Linked DNA regions of Homo sapiens: all the other regions are linked to region 2. Evidence: promoter capture Hi-C in human tissues and cell types (Jung and others, 2019). All regions are on one chromosome and are shown on one strand. Each heading gives the region's core, a stretch centred on a gene start or on the middle of the fragment in contact. The rest is flanking DNA. Distances are from core to core; before and after follow the strand shown.

Evidence for each region. Contacts are between HindIII fragments. The study calls those that stand out against the background at their distance.
Region 1: a contact is called between a fragment that was not itself captured here and the fragment with the promoter of CSNK2A3 in region 2, in 4 of the 25 tissues and cell types used here (IMR-90 fibroblasts, hippocampus, mesendoderm cells and 1 more).
Region 3: a fragment that was not itself captured here is called in contact with the fragment with the promoter of CSNK2A3 in region 2 in 2 of the 25 tissues and cell types used here (liver and pancreas).

The regions. Positions count from the first base shown.
Region 1 is chr11:11,318,711-11,321,585 of GRCh38, reverse strand. The region is part of intron 9 of GALNT18 (polypeptide N-acetylgalactosaminyltransferase 18); the gene reads left to right. Among named protein-coding and RNA genes, the nearest start is that of CSNK2A3, 33 kb to the left of the region's middle. The HindIII fragment of the contact is 7,313 bases long and covers 1-2,875 here.
Region 2 is chr11:11,351,492-11,354,759 of GRCh38, reverse strand. CSNK2A3 (casein kinase 2 alpha 3) reads left to right here and starts at 1,510. Exons shown (of 1, transcript NM_001256686.2): 1 at 1,510-2,818. The coding sequence starts at 1,641. The coding sequence ends at 2,816. The region is part of intron 6 of GALNT18 (polypeptide N-acetylgalactosaminyltransferase 18); the gene reads left to right. The HindIII fragment of the contact is 7,765 bases long and covers 190-3,268 here.
Region 3 is chr11:11,295,341-11,298,602 of GRCh38, reverse strand. The region is part of intron 9 of GALNT18 (polypeptide N-acetylgalactosaminyltransferase 18); the gene reads left to right. It overlaps LOC124902633 (a long non-coding RNA gene), which reads right to left and starts at 1,223. Exons shown (of 3, transcript XR_007062596.1): 1 at 1,172-1,223; 2 at 692-716. The HindIII fragment of the contact is 5,230 bases long and covers 1-3,262 here.

The DNA.
Region 1 (2,875 bases), core at 203-2,702, 33 kb after region 2:
TGGAGCATCACTGAGTTACTATGGCACCAAAAATGTAAGGGAGTTAGGAAAGGACAGTGAAGTGGGCATTGGGATGCCTGAGTTCAAGGGTTTGTCTTGCTACACAATTGCAACATCACCTTAATCTTCTCTGGGCCTTTATTTTGTTTTACTATTTTATTGAGGTAGAATTTTATACTAAAATACACGAATCTTAACTGCACAGTTCTTAACTTTGTATACACTGTACAGTCACCATTAAGTTCAAACCCATCATTCCAGAAGGCTTCCTCATTTGTCCTCTTGGTCATACCTCCACCCAAAGGTAAGGATGGTTCTGACCACTCTCACCATTGATGAGTTTCATCTGAGCCTGTATTTCTGTCTGCAGATGATAAAGCTGGATTGGGCTTCTTTAGGCTCAACACTCCTAGCTCTGACAATCTGCTTATCTCTAATTCCTTTGTTTTGAAATTCAGTTGGCGTGGGAAACTGTGAATTTGTGCTTGCCAGGAATGCTGGGAGCTGCCTTTGTAAATAAGCTTCTTGATGTGAAGCTGCAGCAAGTCTCAAAGGGTTGGGTCTCCCTTCCTCATCCCCCAAAGCCACAGAACACTCATGCAGCTGGGCTGTACAGGGAGCCCTTGGTGTCCTGGTGACCTTTCACGCCAGGCCATGCTCAGATGCACAACTAGCAGTGCTGTGTAGGGAGGTTTGGGACCAGCCTCAGATTACACACATTTCCCAGGAAGGGGTAGGGATGCTGCTGTGGCAGGACTCTGTTGAGGCTGTGGCCTGCCCAGTGAGCTGGGAGAGCTGGAAAGGACAAGGTTATCCTGGGGACGGGCTGGGTATTCCCAGCCTGAGCTCCTACATCCACCCATGATGAACGCAGGGGCAGGGGATGAGTGAAAGGTAAGGGGCTGCTGTCTGGCAAGGCTTCCCAAAGTCATCTTCCAGCCCGCAAGAAGTTCACTGCTCATGGAAGAGTAAGAAAAGGGGTACTCTAGGACGTGTTACCTGAGAATGAAGTCAGGGTACATCTCAGAAGGAGACTGTGGACAGGTGAGGACCCCAAAGATCCTCTGAATCCTACAGACTTGGTCCAAATCAAACATTCAACATGCATTTCCAGGGATGTCACCCCCTCCTACTGGCAGTTCTCAGCAAGATCTTTATTGTTACCATGGCCACATAGGACAAGGAGAGCTTTGGGAAGGTCGTGTATGCACGGATGGAACTGTCACATGCCATTGTGCAGGTTGTGCACTGTACAACTGCAGGAGATGGAGGTGGCACTTTACATTGTTGCCTAGGGAATATAGACCAAGCCAGGGTAACGGTATTTCTGACCTCTTCTATGAAAACTTACATATTCCTCCCTAAGCATCACACTTGATAGGAAGCCTGAAAATGCTGAAAGACAATTTCTGAGGCAATATATAGTGATTAAGAACCAGACTATATGGGTTCAAATCCCAGCCATGCCACTTACTAACTGAGTCTCTTAGGTGAGTGTCTCCTCATGCCTCAATTTTATTGCCTGTAATGAAATTGGCTGGTGGTTGGTGGTCCCTTGGCTTGTAGCAGCATAAGAGAGAATATAGTAGTACTAACTTTGTGGAGTTGTTATAAGGATTAAATAAATCAATGCACATAAAGCGTTTAGAGAACAAAATCTGGTACACAGTCATCGCTTACTAAATGTTGGCTATTATTACTATTACCAGATTGGTAAAGACACTCTAGACCATGTCCTTGAGTTAATAGAGTAGGAATTGTTTAGCTTAAAAAGAGAACAGATTTAAGGGGGACGTTAAAACTCCTTCCAAAGTATAAGGATGCAGATTTTTGGCTGAGCATGAGGAAACTCTTCCCAATCATTGGCTCAGGTTATTTTGACATCTCCGTCATCAGCACTGAGCCATGTTTGGCAGGCTCCAGGGACATTCTGAAGGATTTTTATACCATGTAGGCTCTTAAGCTAAGAAATTCCTAAGGGCTCTTGCACCCTGGAATTCTATGACTTTTTAATTCATTACCTTGTCCAAATCAAGGTAACGGCTTGTAGCAGCATAACTCCACCCTTCACATGACATTCTCCATGTGTGTGTCTGTGTCCAAATTGCTCCTTTTTTATGAACAGCATTCATGTGCCAGATACTGTTCTTGGCCCTGGGAAATGGATGAACCAGAAAAAAAGTGACTGTCCTTGTGAAGCTATATTCTGGTGCTAGCAACAGACTATTCTCTATTTTCTAATCTTCAAATCTTCACCACAGCCAAGATTTGAACTTGTTTCTCTCTTGAGCATTGCATATGGGGCAACATTTGAGCTTCATGACTTGGATTTCAGCCAGCAATGGCCAAGAATGGTGAAGGTGTAAGAAGGGCAAGAAGGCAGGACTGCAGGCTGGCCCCGTTCATCTTGCTGACTTTGTAAGACGGTTAAGCAAGTACTGAGTGCATTTGAGGAACTGAGTATCTGTAGGCATTTTCTAAGTAAGACGGTTAAGCAAGTACTGAGTGCATTTGAGGAACTGAGTATCTGTAGACATTTTCTAAAGAAAAACGTCAAAATAAAATGGAGAGATTAAATGCAAAAGTGGTTCATGTCCTATGGGGAAATAAAATTATAGCCTTTCATGTGATCTTTTCTACACAGACAGAAATCTAGGAGTTAGCATACAACTTCATAGTGTCTGAGAGAGAATCAAAAGGTAAATAGCAAAGTCAAGCATGAGTACATTCTCTTGGAAAATTACATACTCTTGGATGGGCCCGTTAATGTCCCAGGATAATATTAAAAGGACAGGCCACTTCCCCTCTTTGTTTTTGCCTTATTTCTAGGTTTCAGGTATTTTTCTTACTCTTTTCACAAAGTTTGTTGAAGGTC
Region 2 (3,268 bases), core at 261-2,760:
CGTAGGCACTTGGGTATATAAATCTTGAGCTCAGAGGAATGTAGTGTGTTTTCCCCTGTCCCGAAAAGCTGTGGTATAGCAATAGTGAATCTTATCATCAGTGGAATATTATAGTGATAATAATTATAGCTGATACTTAGGGGCCTCTAAACTTCTTCCAGGTGATGAAATAAACTGTCTCTGTGTATTACTTCATTTAATTCTCACAGCAACTATCTTTGGAATTTATCACTTTTATCTCCATTTCATAGACAAGGAAACTGAGTGTTGGAAGGTGAAGTGAATTGCCTAAAGTCACCAGTTCAGCAAATGGGAAATGTAGGACTTGACACCAAGACTGTTTGGCCCCAGAGGCTATGCTCTGAACCATAATGACTTCCTGTCTTCCAAAAGGCAGGCTCTTGGATCCATATCTTACTGTGCTTCTAAATTATCCTGTGACCCTGAACCTTAGTTTGCTCACCTGGGAAATGAAGGGAGGTCCTGGTTAGGTTCCCTTCAGTTCTACTCTATTGCAGTATGCTGATCTCTTTTGTAAATCTGTATTAAATGAGAGTTTGCTATCGGTGACTTTCAGAGATGACACCAGTGATGATGCCCATGCTGACGATTCATTCTGATGTCTATGAAAAGAGCAAATCCTTTAAGAGAAGATGTAGCATACCAGTGTTTATAATCTGAGTTTCATTTGATTAAGAGGGGAAGCTCTTTAGAACAAATATCATTTCTGAGCGAGAGAATGTTCAGCATCTCAGCCTCATTTGTATCATTTGATAAAAGGGCCCCACTGAGCCAAGTGTGAGGATGATGCTTGAGCCAGACACATAGACACCAGACATTCCTCTGATGTCTGCTCCCCAGGCTTGGCCACATTGCCTCCCACCAACCCCATCTCAATGACACATCCATTACCTGCCATCAGTTGGCTCTATGGTGCTGGGAATGACAGAGTGTATCTACCCTGGATTTCAGAAAGAACCCTCCTGGCTTATCATGGCAACACCCTTTGGACACTCGTTTAAAGAGTCCTTCTTTGGGCCAGTGTTATCCTTTTGGGGGCATCTGGTATGGACGGCCAATTTGAATCTGACTGGGACATGCTAATGAGCCATTCATATGTGTGGGATTTGTTTCTGATTCGATTAAGCTTCAGAGAGAGGAAAGAAACAGCCACTGATTAGAGACATAAAAAAAGAAATACTTTAAGTGAGTAAGTGGTTCATCTTCATATAGGAAAGTATAAATTAAACATGGTCCAGGAGATGTGCTTTGAATAGCAGCTGGATAGCACAAGCATGTCCACAAGGAGACGGTGCCTCACAGCAATTGAAAGGGACTTAACCCCCAAAAAGGGCTCTGAATATGCTGAGTAAATAGATGAGCCCAGTTAGCTGATAAAAATGACTCTCAGATTAGAGATGGGAAGGTTTTTATTTGGATTTTAGAAAATTGCTCCCCACTCCATCGCCGCCATATTGTCTGTGTGAGCAGAAGGGAGAGCGGCCACAGCCGCTGCCGCTTCCACCACAGTGTGAAGAAAACAGGTCTGAAACAAGGTCTTACCCCCAAGCTGCTTCTGAACACAGTGACTGCCAGATCTCCAAACATCAAGTCCAGCTTTGTCCGCCAACCTGTCTGACATGTCGGGACCCGTGCCAAGCAGGGCCAGAGTTTACACAGATGTTAATACACACAGACCTCGAGAATACTGGGATTACGAGTCACATGTGGTGGAATGGGGAAATCAAGATGACTACCAGCTGGTTCGAAAATTAGGCCGAGGTAAATACAGTGAAGTATTTGAAGCCATCAACATCACAAATAATGAAAAAGTTGTTGTTAAAATTCTCAAGCCAGTAAAAAAGAAGAAAATTAAGCGTGAAATAAAGATTTTGGAGAATTTGAGAGGAGGTCCCAACATCATCACACTGGCAGACATTGTAAAAGACCCTGTGTCACGAACCCCCGCCTTGGTTTTTGAACACGTAAACAACACAGACTTCAAGCAATTGTACCAGACGTTAACAGACTATGATATTCGATTTTACATGTATGAGATTCTGAAGGCCCTGGATTATTGTCACAGCATGGGAATTATGCACAGAGATGTCAAGCCCCATAATGTCATGATTGATCATGAGCACAGAAAGCTACGACTAATAGACTGGGGTTTGGCTGAGTTTTATCATCCTGGCCAAGAATATAATGTCCGAGTTGCTTCCCGATACTTCAAAGGTCCTGAGCTACTTGTAGACTATCAGATGTACGATTATAGTTTGGATATGTGGAGATTGGGTTGTATGCTGGCAAGTATGATCTTTCGGAAGGAGCCATTTTTCCATGGACGTGACAATTATGATCAGTTGGTGAGGATAGCCAAGTTTCTGGGGACAGAAGATTTATATGGCTATATTGACAAATACAACATTGAATTAGATCCACGTTTCAATGATATCTTGGGCAGACACTCTCGAAAGCGATGGGAACGCTTTGTCCACAGTGAAAATCAGCACCTTGTCAGCCCTGAGGCCTTGGATTTCCTGGACAAACTGCTGCGATATGACCACCAGTCACGGCTTACTGCAAGAGAGGCCATGGAGCACCCCTATTTCTACACTGTTGTGAAGGACCAGGCTCGAATGGGTTCATCTAGCATGCCAGGGGGCAGTACGCCCGTCAGCAGCGCCAATGTGATGTCAGGGATTTCTTCAGTGCCAACTCCTTCACCCCTTGGACCTCTGGCAGGCTCACCAGTGATTGCTGCTGCCAACCCCCTTGGGATGCCTGTTCCAGCTGCCACTGGCGCTCAGCAGTAACGGCCCTATCTGTCTCCTGATGCCTGAGCAGAGGTGGGGGAGTCCACCCCCTCCTTGATGCAGCTTGCGCCTGGCGGGGAGGGGTGAAACACTTCAGAAGCAACGTGTCTGAACCGTTGCTTGTGGATTTATAGTAGTTCAGTCATAAAAAAAAATTATAATAGGCTGAAAAAAAAAAAAAAGAAAATTGCTCCCCAAATCCCTATGACATTTAAGCTCATTGTCATTCTCTGGCAGCACCAGTGACAGTAATGGGGGCCAGAGATCCTATTTCAAAACAAAGAAGTGATTACAGTAGATAGCGCAGGTGTCAATGGGACCCTGATTTGGAACTTGCTAATACTTCTGTCTCTGAGTTTGGGGCTTCTATAGGGTTTTGGTTCCATAGATATGCCTGGACTTGAACTAGCTTACCTTCCCAGCCTTGTGCATCGGGAAGCTGTGAGGGTCAG
Region 3 (3,262 bases), core at 348-2,847, 56 kb after region 2:
GGGTGAGTTCATGGTGGCCCTCGGGACCAAGCTCCCGGGCCTGGGCAGCTGCAGCTGAGGTTCGGGACTGGGCGGAGGCAGTGGCCATCAGTGCAGCCGAGGAGAGCCCCTCCAAGGAATGGGTAAGGGGCCACAGGCCCTGAGCTGCCAGAACTCAGCCTTGCTCAGGACTTCTCCCTAGGCAAGGAGGGGAGAGAGCAACTGCCTACCTGAGTGTCTTCACAAGTTTTTAAAACTCTCATAGCCTCAGTTTCCTTATCCTTAAAAGTGGCAGTAGCCACGGGCATGGAAAACACCTAGCAGAGGACTGCTAGGCGCACAAAACTATGTGTGTTTTCTTCTCTTCCTTCCCTTCCTGAAGCTGTGGCAGAGTTTCCATCAGCCAGGTGAGGCTTGACACATGTGAGGGGTGGCTTCTTTGGAGGGCTAGAGGCCAGGCTCTGAGACCAGGGTATCCTGCAGGATGGGGGCCCTTGCCCCAAGGTGAGGGACAGAGTCAGGAGAACCTCCGGCCCTGGGGGACGTTACCCAGCCTCGACTCTGTGGCTCTAAAGGCAGGAATGTGCAACCAGAGTTCTGTGGTCTCCCTGGCCAGCTGTTAGCTCTCAGTCATGGCTCCTACCCCTGGCCTGGAGGAGAGGAAAATGCCACTAGCGTAAGATCCAGGATACGGATGTGTTGATTGTTTTACCTTGCAGGTGATTTTGCTCTTCCTCCTGCAAGAATCAAAATGAAATGCTGGAGATCTGGTTTGCAGCCCTGCTGAGCTGTGTAGAGCTGAGTAGAGAATGAGCCAAATCAATCATTGGCAGCTGAGGAGGAGCTGAGTGGGCGGGGATGACGTTTCTCTGCCCCGGGGGTTTGTAAGACGTCCACAGGCAGGATAACAGCTCACCCCAGCCTCAGACCAGAGTTACAGGAGGGATGCTGCTGTCTCAGAACTTTGTAGCATCTTTTATTCTAGGCTCCTCCAGCTCTCTGGTACTGTCTTAGTCCAGGCCCCCATCATGGTTGGAAGGGATCACAGTGGAAGTCCTCTCCCGGCTCCCCCTGCCCCTCCCAGCCTGGAGGCTGGAGCTGGAGTGACCCCAGGGAGGTGGGCAAGGGAGGTGAGTGGTCGCACATATGGCTCTGGAGTTAAACTGCCTCGCTGTAAATCTCAGCTACTCACCAACCGTGCGACTTTGGAAACATTGCTTATGGTCTCCGTGCCTCAGCTTTCTCGTCTGTAAGGTAAGGGATAATATTAGTACCTGCCTCATGAGTTATTGCTAAGATTAAACAAGATAAAGCATGTAAGTCATTTCATGTCTGGCACAGTGTAAGAGGTAAAAACATGTTAGCTTTTATTATACCTTAAGTTGGGGTATCTCAACAGCGGCACTACTGACATTTTGGCTAGATAATTCTTTGCTGTGGGGGGCTGTCCTGTGCACTTAGGATGTTGAGTGGGATCCCAGACCAGCCACTAGACACCTCCTACCACCCCCACCATCATGACAACCAAAAATGTCTCCAGGCATTCCAGATAGCCCCTGGTTTATAACATTCCTCCACTGAGGACCATCGTTCTAAGTCACTTTTTGCCTTAAACGTTCCAGAGTCCCCATTGCTCAGAAAGCTTAGCTATGCTTGCTGGGACTGCAGGCACTGAAGGTAGGGCATCTTGAACACCTTTTTTGTGTTCGAGCAATTTGTTTATTTAATCCGCTAGGCTGGGCTTCTGAGATGTCCATGTGAGGACTTGAGAAAATCCTCTTTGCCGAACCTCCCTCTGTGATCTGCCAGCCTTGTGATTACGCCAGTCAAGAGGCACTTTGTTGTTTTGTTTTTAAATAACAATCGTCTGCCCCATTATGATTTTCCCAGACTCTGGAGCAATAAACAGCTCTGATGACAGCTGTACCAGATAGTAAGTGCACACGTCTCTCCCAGCATCTCCCTAAACTCTTCAGAGCAGCTAAGTGGATAAAACTGATTTCAGCTGTTACCTGAGTAGCCACTTGTGTCTGCCAAGTCTGCTCCAGAGACAAGAACCAGGCTTTGATGACAGAAGAAGAAAAACATGGGAATGACTGGCTCCCTGGCTGTCCTTGTCTCACAGCCCACATCCCCAAACCTCAGGAAATCTGGGTCCTGGCATGCAGGGAGATTAAGAGCTACAGTGTCCTAAGGAGGTCACAGTGCATTCAACCCAGGGGTATAAACAGGTGTGCACCTTTTGGTGAGAGGCCCAGGTGGCAGGCTGAGGCTCCACACAGTTGAATATTCAGGGCAGTCTTTCTGGATATGGTGGGTTCTCGTTTCTATTTTCAAAGTAGTAAGAGTTGGGGTAGGTGAGTACAAGAAGCAGGGGCACTTCTCATATTCATGTGATTGGGGTCATTGTTTCCTGATATGTTGTTGGTTTCCCTAATGCGGCATGGCTTCTCCAGGACAGGGACCATGGCTTTTCTCATTTCTGTAGTCCTAGATCCCAACTTAGAGATTACTTGTTAGTTGAATAGAGGTATGGGTGTGATGTCTAACTCTATGGCTGTTTAATTTTCTCCATCCTACCAGTTGCCAAGTTCTCCCTCAACTCCAATAAACTAGAAGCCACAGGACATCAGCTTTCTTCGGTGGTGACCTGGAAATCCAGGCCACACAATGGACAGTCTCAGGATTCTGATGAGCAAACCACCTCTTGCCCAGGATAGCTTTGAAGAGGCTCCCCTTGCCTCTTGTTCTGGTTACATTTCCACATCAAAGCTGGACATCCCACATTTGGCCTCTGCTCAGAACTTTGGTCACAGTGAATCCTTCACCTTTGTTATAGAAAAACTCAGTCATTTTAGTCATTTTGATATCAATTACCATGGATTTGCCAAGCTTGATAACTTGTAAAGTGACCACAGAGAGCAGATCTTAGCTGTAATGAGCGTCTTCTGCTCCTCCCTCCAGACACACTCTCCACCCACCTCCCTCCACCCTGAGAGGCTGACGTTATGGAACATTTCAATGGAAATCTCTGGTTTCCAGTTGGGTTCTGCCAGTGGCCTGACCTAGCATGAGATTGAAGTGGGGAGGAAAGAGTGAACTTGGGGTGTTTATTCAGCATCACTTGCCATGACCCCAAAGCCCTCCTCTCAGCTTTCTCTCCATGACTTTTCTCTTACACGTTCTGGTGACAGCTCTGTCCTCTCATTCCACTGGGCGTAGGGGTACTAACTGCTTCATGTTACTTTCCTCAGGGAATCATCCTATCCCTTGTGGTTCCCTG